2 separate regions of the Homo sapiens genome follow, and region 1 is linked to region 2. Evidence: promoter capture Hi-C in human tissues and cell types (Jung and others, 2019). All regions are on one chromosome and are shown on one strand. Each heading gives the region's core, a stretch centred on a gene start or on the middle of the fragment in contact. The rest is flanking DNA. Distances are from core to core; before and after follow the strand shown.

What was found. The method cuts DNA at HindIII sites, captures the fragments that hold promoters and counts their contacts. A contact is called where the count stands out against the background at its distance.
Region 1: a contact is called between a fragment that was not itself captured here and the fragment with the promoter of TMEM129 in region 2, in 1 of the 25 tissues and cell types used here (dorsolateral prefrontal cortex).

Annotation. Positions count from the first base shown.
Region 1 is chr4:1,335,367-1,339,521 of GRCh38, forward strand. It overlaps MAEA (macrophage erythroblast attacher, E3 ubiquitin ligase), which reads left to right. Exons shown (of 9, transcript NM_001017405.3): 7 at 1,495-1,628; 8 at 3,056-3,251; 9 at 3,708-4,155. The coding sequence ends at 3,803. Among named protein-coding and RNA genes, the nearest start is that of UVSSA, 9.8 kb to the right of the region's middle. RefSeq lists an enhancer at 3,816-4,155. The HindIII fragment of the contact is 5,951 bases long and covers 1-4,155 here.
Region 2 is chr4:1,718,518-1,723,052 of GRCh38, forward strand. It overlaps TMEM129 (transmembrane protein 129, E3 ubiquitin ligase), which reads right to left and starts at 2,806. Exons shown (of 4, transcript NM_001127266.2): 1 at 2,116-2,806; 2 at 1-109. The coding sequence starts at 2,320. It overlaps TACC3 (transforming acidic coiled-coil containing protein 3), which reads left to right and starts at 3,004. Exons shown (of 16, transcript NM_006342.3): 1 at 3,004-3,126. RefSeq lists enhancers at 937-1,016, 1,657-1,756, 2,839-3,834 and silencers at 2,347-2,396, 2,407-3,216. The HindIII fragment of the contact is 14,879 bases long and covers 1-4,535 here.

The DNA of each region.
Region 1 (4,155 bases), core at 349-2,848, 380 kb before region 2:
AGTGTAGCAGAGTTAAGTCAGCACCAGCCCTGTGGCATGTTGAAATCAGAGTTAAGTCAGCACTGGCCCCACAGTGTGTTGAAATCAGAGTTAAGTCAGCACTGGCCCCACAGTGTGTTGAAATCACAGAGTTAAGTCAGCACTGGCCCCATGGCGTGTTGAAACCACAGAGTTAAGTCAGCACTGGCCCCACAGTGTGTTGAAATCACAGAGTTAAGTCAGCACTGGCCCCATGGCGTGTTGAAACCACAGAGTTAAGTCAGCTCTGGCCCCCACAGTGTGTTGAAATCACAGAGTTAAGTCAGCACTGGCCCCATGGCGTGTTGAAACCACAGAGTTAAGTCAGCACTGGCCCCACAGTGTGTTGAAATCACAGAGTTAAGTCAACACCTGCCCTGCAGTGTGTTGAAATCACAGAGTTAAGTCAGCACCTGCCCTGCAGTGTGTTGAAATCACAGAGTTAAGTCAGCACCTGCCCTGCAGTGTGTTGAAATCAGAGTTAAGTCAGCACCTGCCCTGCAGTGTGTTGAAATCACAGAGTTAAGTCAGCACCTGCCCTGCAGTGTGTTGAAATCACAGAGTTAAGTCAGCACCTGCCCTGCAGTGTGTTGAAATCAGAGTTAAGTCAGCACCTGCCCTGCAGTGTGTTGAAATCACAGAGTTAAGTCAGCACCTGCCCTGCAGTGTGTTGAAATCACAGAGTTAAGTCAGCACCTGCCCTGCAGTGTGTTGAAATCAGAGTTAAGTCAGCACTCATCCCGCAGCATGTTGAAATCAGGGAGTTAGATCAGCACTGGCCTTGCAGCATGTTGAAATCAGAGAGTTCCAGCACTCGTCCCGCAGAGTGTTGAAATCAGAGTTAAGTCAGCCCTTGTCCTGCAGGTGTTGAAATCAGAGCGTTAAGTCAGCACTGGCCTCACAGCGTGTTGAAATCAGAGACTTAAGTCAGAACTGGCCCCACAGTATTTTGAAATCAGAGAAGTCAGCACTCCCCCGACAGTGTGTTGAAATCAGAGTTAAGTCAGCACTCACCCCACAGCATGTTGAAATCGGAGTTAAGTCAGCACTCACCCCACAGCATGTTAAAATCAGAGTTAAGTCAGCACTCATCCCACAGTGTGTTGAAATCAGAGTTAAGTCAGCACTTGTCCCGCAGCATGTTGAAATCAGAGTTAAGTTCATACTGGCCTCGCAGTGTGTTGAAATCAGAGAGTTAAGTCAGCACTGACCCTGTAGCATGTTGAAATCAGAGTTAAGTCAGCACTCATCCCGCAGCATGTTGAAATCATAGTTAAGTCAGCACTCATCCCACTGTGTGTATCAGTCAACACTTGAGGGAGTTATGCTTTGTGCTGACCCTTAGTGCAAAGTGTGTGGGTCACTGGGGGATGGCTGTGGGCCGATGGCACCTGCTTCACCATGGTCCACGTTTTTAAGCTGTCCCAGGAGCTTCCCTGGGAGCATCCCCAGGACCCTCTGCTCTCTGTCTTCCAGGACCTTCTGGACCCTGCACGGTGGCGGATGCTGATCCAGCAGTTCCGGTACGACAACTACCGACTACACCAGCTGGGAAACAATTCTGTGTTCACCCTCACCCTGCAGGCTGGCCTCTCAGCCATCAAGACACCGTATCCTACCTCCCGTGCGCAGTGCGGTTTGGCCTGGGGTTGGCATCTTTGGTCATATTTTAACACGCTGACCCTGCACCTTGCCACTCTTGTCCTCCCACCACAGACAGCCCCGAGCTCCCGTGTGCTGCACTTGCGTGGTGTCTGGATGGTCGGGGTGGGGCCGTGTTGAGGGGCCTCGGATGCGTCGTGCAGCCTTCACTCTGGGAAGTGGCGCGCTTCCTCTCTCATCATCTCAGAGGCCGCCATGGGCATTGATCTAAAAGCCCGATTTTGATGTGTTCTGGCAGCCGGCAGATTACCATTCAGAATAGTTTTCCCGTGTGATTACCAAGAACCTTGCCTGTGACTGACTCTGTCCCGCCTGTGACTGACTCTGTCCCACCTGTGACCGACTCTGTCTGCCTGTGACTCTGTCCCTGCCTGTGACTGACTCCATCCTGCCTGTGACTCTGTCCCACCTGCGACTCACTGAGTTCCTGCCTGTGACTCACTCGGCTCCCGCCTGCAACGGACTTGGTCCCTGCCTGCGACTCACTGTGGCCCTGCCTGTGACTGAGTCTGTCCCGTTTGTGACTGATTCCTTCCTGTGACTGACTCTGTCCCACCTGCAACTGACTTCTTCCTGCCTGTGACAGACTCTGCCCCTGCCTGCGACTGAGTCTGTCCCTTCCTGCAACTGAGTCCATCCCGCCTGTGACTCTGTCCTCGCCTGTGACTGACTCTGCCCCTGCCCTGTGACTGTCTCACCTGTGACTGACTCCGTCCTGCCTGTGACTCAGCCTCTTACTGACTCTACCCCTGCCTGTGACTGACTCTGCCCTCTCCTGTGACTGACTCTGTCCCCACCTGTGACTGACTCTGTCCCCACCTGTGACTGACTGTCCTCCTGCAACTGACTCTGTCCCCGCCTATGAATGTCTTTCATGTGACCTGCCTCAGGCCCAGAGGGCAGTGAGTGTTTCGCGATTGCTGCTGGTACCTGGCTGTGCCGGGGTATGAATGAGACTCAGGCCCCCTCCCTTGTCCCCTCTTTGTGGAACTCTGGGCGAGAGGGCTGGCGTGCTTGCCCACTGCCTGTTCCTAGGTGCCAGCAGAACGTCCCTGCTGGGTGGCTCTTGTCCTGCCTGGAGAGGTTGCGTGGCCGGGGAGAGGGCGGCGGGCGACGGAGCCACTCTGTGCCTGTGGTCCTGGTGCTGGAGGCCGGGGTGAGAAGGCGCAGGCTTCTTGTCTCCACCGAGGCCTCAGTGGGGCTGTTTAGCTGTCGAGTGCAGCACTTCCTGTGCCTCGAAAGACAGCCCCGTGTAGTCAGCATGGCGCCCACATAGCCAGAAGGGCACGCAGCCCAGGGCAGAGTGGCCACAGGGGGCTGGGCTCACCCCGGCTGCCCTGAGTGGCCCCCAACCCTTCCTTGACCCGATGCTCAGACAGTGCTACAAGGAGGACGGCAGCTCCAAGAGCCCTGACTGCCCTGTGTGCAGCCGCTCCCTGAACAAGCTGGCGCAGCCCCTGCCCATGGCCCACTGTGCCAACTCCCGCCTGGTCTGCAAGATTTCTGGCGACGTGATGAACGAGAACAATCCGCCCATGATGCTGCCCAACGGCTACGTCTACGGCTACAATGTGAGGGGGGCAGGGCAGGGGGGCCAGGCTGGCACGCATCGCCATCGGGACAGGGCTGTGTGGGACGGGCAGGGCAGGGGGGCCAGGCTGGCACGCATCGCCATCGGGACAGGGCTGTGTGGGACGGGCAGGGCGGGGGGCCAGGCTGGCACGCGTCGCCATCGGGACAGGGCTGTGTGGGGCGGGCAGGGCAGCGGGGCCAGGCTGGCACACGTCGCCATTGGGACAGGGCTGTCCTCTCGCCCCACCCTGCCTTAGCTTCGTTCGAAATGGATGAAGGGGTGGGAAGGACAGGCGAGGTGGCCCCGGGATTTCTTTGGCAGGTGTGCCTTCGGGAAGGAACTTTGCCTGAGAGGATGAGTCATTCCCTGGTGGTTCATTGTGGGGATTTTCCATGGAAATCCGTGTGTACGTTGTAGTCGCTTGCCTTAATGCATTCCCGGTTTTATTTTTCAGTCTCTGCTTTCTATCCGTCAAGATGATAAAGTCGTGTGCCCGAGAACCAAAGAAGTCTTCCACTTCTCACAAGCCGAGAAGGTGTACATCATGTAGGCCCCACGTCGTGAAGCGCACGCCTCGGGGACGGGCTGCAGTGGGCGGGGAGGCCACGCCTTCCTCCTGTCCCACGCTCCAGCCTGCCGCGGCGTTTCTGTTTCTTGCGACCAAAGATCCGTGAGCAACGATAAATACTCTTAGGAAGAGAGAAAATAAGGTTTCATAAGTTTGTACTTGAAAACATTTGGATTGGTAGGATTTTGTAACACGTCAACCATTTGATGCTTCTGAAAAGTACTTTCAACTTGCGAAGGAAACTCTTCTTTAAAGACTGACCTAAACACCGAGGGAAACTTAAGAACGTTTAAAATATAGGAGTCCGTGATTTCCCTGTGTTTTCAGTTTCTTT
Region 2 (4,535 bases), core at 1,556-4,055:
GAGGGGAGGGTCACGGCCAGCAGCAGGAAGAGCCGCCAGGCCTCAGGGGCCTGGCTGAGGGCGTGGAGCCGCTTTTCTGAAGCCGCAAGGCACATGCCCACATAGTAGCCTGCAAAGGACAGGGTGAGCCTCAGGGGAAAGTGAGTGGCAGGCCGCTGTCCACCCCCCGACAGCCCTGGACCTGGCCCTCTGCCCGGGTTCCAGGGTCAGCTCCCAGGGTAATTGGGCTTTACCCACTCTGCACTTCCCCAGCCGGCCACTCTCTCCCTGCCTGTGGCAAAGGCAGGATATATTAGCGGAAAAGGTTTTTAATTTGCTGCTTTAGTTTCACACAATACGTAAGTGTTGAAAAAACTACAAAAGCCTAGAAAGGGAAAAATAAACACAATCAGGTGTCACCTCAGGCAGAGCTGACCCCTGGCCTGCCAGGGCAGCTGCCTGGACAGGATCTCAGTCTCTCAATCTCACCCGCTCTGAGGAGGCTGATCAAATGTGGTGCATCCCAGAGCTGAAAAGTTATGTGCGAGAAAGGAAGCAAGTCTCAAAGAATGATGGGACATGTCCAGAGGACACGGAGCCAGCTTCAGGGCCCTGCTGGCCAGATCGAGGACAATTTGAAGGTCCAAATAAGCCATGGAGATGGTGAGGAGTTGCACCAGCAGGTTCCAGTTGGCAAAAAGTAATAGTCCACATTTGGAGTTGGCCCAGTCACTGCATTTCAAGGTAACATGACATATAACAATAGGTAACTAGGGGCCGGGTGCAGTGGCTCACACCTGTAATCCCAGCACTTTGGGAAGCCGAGGCGGACGGATCACGAGGTCAGATCGAGACCATCCTGGCTAACACGGTGAAACCCCATCTCCACTAAAAAATACAAAAAATTAGCCGGGCGTGGTGGCGGGCGCCTGTAGTCCCAGCTACTCAGGAGGCCGAAGTTGCAGTGAGCCGAGATCATGCCACTGCACTCCAGCCTGGGTGACAGAGCGAGGCTCCGTCTCAAAAAGTAAAAATAAAAATAAAACAGGTAACTAATACCTAATAAAGCTTGAAAACTTTCAAACTAAGTTAAAAATAAAAAGAGCTTGACATCCGACTGTGAGGCCAGCTGTGCTGTCTGCTCCAGGTGTGGCTGCCACAATTCACTTGTGGTCCCTCATAGGCCTCTGGGGAGGGTGCAGCTGGAAGGGCTACAGAAACCCACCCAGTAGCCCTAGAAAGTGGCCTGGTCAGGGCCCCAGCCCCACTCAGCCCCATCCATCTCTCAAGTGGGCCCCCAGCCCACCCTCTCCATGAGGCAGGCCTGGGCGCCTCCACCCGACACCTGCCTCCAGTTCTTCTGGGCCCAGGCAGCTGCATCCTCAAACCAGGATGTGGAGGGTCACCCCTCTTGTATCCCCAGAGTGGCAAACCTGGCCAGCCACTGGCCATCTGTCCTCCCAGGGCTGCGTCTGCCCCCGTGTCCTCCAGAGGTACCCCCTTGAAATCCCCCTCCAGCCACTGCACACCCCACCTCCCACCTGTCCGTCATCCAATCAGCTGAGAGAGGGACCTTCCAGAGCCCCAGCTAGCACCTGGGGCCCAGCCCAGCACCCCCCTGGACAACTCTGAGCGTCCCACCTGCACTGCACAGAGGCCCTCCCCAGCCTCTGCCCCTGTGGCGCCCCCAAACTGGAACTGCCTCCAAATCCGCCTGTTCTCTCCACACCCACCTTCCAAGGCCTAGTGCAGTGCCACCCTCCACACAGCCCCTCCGACCCCTTCCGTTGGACTCAATCAACAGTTGCCTTCTCCTGGCCACTGCCCCCAACCACGACAAGCAAGGGCTGCTTGGCCTTGCAACCCCCAGGCACGTGACGGTTCAGGACTTGGTGGGCCGGAGCATCCCTTGCCCAAGGTTCTGAACTTGGGTTCCCGTCACCTGCAAGTCAGTGCCGGCGGCGCCCCTAAGCGCGCTCAGCCCACGCCGCGGTCCCTCTGGATGAGGACCGGCGCCTCTCCCCAGCTGCGCCCAGGCGCTTTCGGGGCCTCGGGGAGCTGGCGGAGGCCTCCTCCTGACCTCCCAGCAAGCCCTGCGCAGGAGAGGATGCGGCCGGCCGGCCCGAGCAGCCTCACCGAGCGGCAGCAGCGAGTGGCACAACAGCGTGGCGGCCGTGCGGCGCAAGTGGAAGGGCACGAAGGCGGCGTCCTCGCTGCCCAGCCAGCCCGACAGCAGGTTCTGCACCGTGAGCCCCGCCGCGTGGAACTCGTTGGGCGTGAACACGAAGCACACGGCGAACACCAGATAGGCGAGAGTGAAGGTCACCTCGGGGCTGTCCATCGCGCAGCCGCCGGGAAGCTGTCGAGCTAGGCCCCCGCCCCGGCGCGCGGACGAGGCCGCAGCGCCCAGTCCCGGACCTGTCGGTTGCGGCGGCCGCCGCCCGGCCGCCCGCGGGGCACTCTAGGACATGGAGTCCCGCCGCCCGGCCGCCCGCGGGGCACTCTAGGACATGGAGTCCCGCCGCCCGGCCGCCCGCGGGGCACTCTAGGACATGGAGTCCCGCCGCCCGGCCGCCCGCGGGGCACTCTAGGGCATGGAGTCCCGCCGCTCGGCCGCTCGCGGGGCGCTCTGGGAGATGCAGTCCCCGTGCGGGTGCGGCCTCTCTTCTCGGCCGGCCCTGGAGGCGGCACCGCACCTGTGCATTGAGCACAGGTGGGGAAACTTAGGCCTGAGCGAGGCCCTGGCCATGAAGCCCCGCCCAGTAGCGTCAGTTGCGGAACTCGAAATTCATGGGGCGACTGCGAGCCCGGGGTCTCAGCTTCAGACACCCTGGCGTGCCCTCCACTCCGGAAACGGAACCGTCGGCGCCCGAGCGGGGGGTGGGGGGGGAGGGAGGGCGGAGCCGGCGAGGCACAGCTTCCCATTGGACGCCCGCCCTCCTGCGGTCCTGCCCCCGGCCGCGCGCTGATTGGCCGCGCGAAGGCAACCGTCGGCGTTTGAAACTCCGGCGCGCCGGCGGCCATCAAGGGCTAGAAGCGCGACGGCGGTAGCAGCTAGGCTTGGCCCCCGGCGTGGAGCAGACGCGGACCCCTCCTTCCTGGCGGCGGCGGCGCGGGCTCAGAGCCCGGCAACGGGCGGGCGGGCAGGTAGGAGAGCGGCTACACGGCGCGGGGAGGCTGGGGTCCTGGGGGCGCGAGGCCGTCCCGCCCCGCCCCGCCCTCGGCCCTCGCCCTCCCGCCCCGGCCGCCGCTTTCCCCGGGAAGCGTCCCCCACGGCTCCTCCTGGGGCCGCCGCCAGAACCTGTACCGCGCCCTGTCATGGGACCCGGCCCTAGACCGACCGCCGGGCTGGGCCCCCTGGATGGTGGCCAGGGGCGGCTAGAGCTGGGCCAAGACCGACGGCGGAGCGGGCGCCCCGAGGTGCTTTGCTCTCCTCGACCCTCTCCTGTCTCTCGGTCGCCCACCTTGGCTCTTTGTTGGCTCCCAGCACGCGGACCCTCCTGTTGTTCTTTGGTCCCTTCCGGCCTCCGTCCTGGGGCCAACTCCATCTAGGCCGCCTGCGGCGGACACCTGGGCCCCTACCGCTTCCCCGCACCTGCTGCGCCGCTCCACCTTCCCCCCGCACCGCATCCCTCTTGTGCACCAGAGTAGCACCAAAGCACCAGCCTGGGGCCGGTCCCTTCTCTGCCCAGAGCCCCTCCCGGGCCTCCATAGTCAGTAAAGGCCCCTCCTGACTAAGGCTGGGTCTGCTGCTCTCCCGAGCTCCTCCAGGCCGCCAGAAGGCTTCCTCCGAGTCACTTTCTCCCTGAGTTCGAGGCTTGCGGGTCCCCCAGCGATCCAGCACCCCTTCCCCTGCCCTGTACCCAGTTATTCAGGGCGAAAACCTAAGCGTCGTCCGTAAGTCCCATATGTGCCAGTGGCCAGGCCCGGGTCTGGTCTGGCATCTACTCCTTGGGCTCCAGAAGCCTGTGGTTTCCCTGCTTCCCTTCTGCTCTTAACCTCCCCACCCACACACAGCACCACAGTGGGCTTCTCAAGCTGCAGCACCGACCTGCCGGGGCTGCCCCCTCTCTCTTCTCCAGGACCCTCCCCAACTTTGCTCTTCTTCAAATCAAAGCCTCCCCAGGTCCCCCTCCACCACCAGGTGCCTGTGGGGTTCCTGCCCTGGTCGACACTCGGTTCTCTCTGGCAGCCTTTTTCCCTACGTCATTCCCTAGACTGGGAACGCTGTAGACAGAAAGGGTGGCAAGTGTGTGGGTGACCGGCGTGAGGACCTGGGCAGCCCTGGAACCTGGGACTGACTGGAGGCTCTGATGTGGAAGTTCCTTGGCACCTGTTGCTCAGCTCTGGGCTTCCCTTGTTTGCGCATCGTCTCCCAGCTCCTCCTCTGGGCCTTCACCCTCTCAGCCTGGTCTTGTCCCGCTGCCTAGCCCGGTGGGAGAGAGCAGACCAGAGCCGCTGTCCTGCTTTTCTGCCCTCTACTGCCCGGTCCTGCCTCACGTCACACGCAGAGGCCTGTGGGGAGACCAGGGCTTCCTCTGGCTCATCCGGGTTTC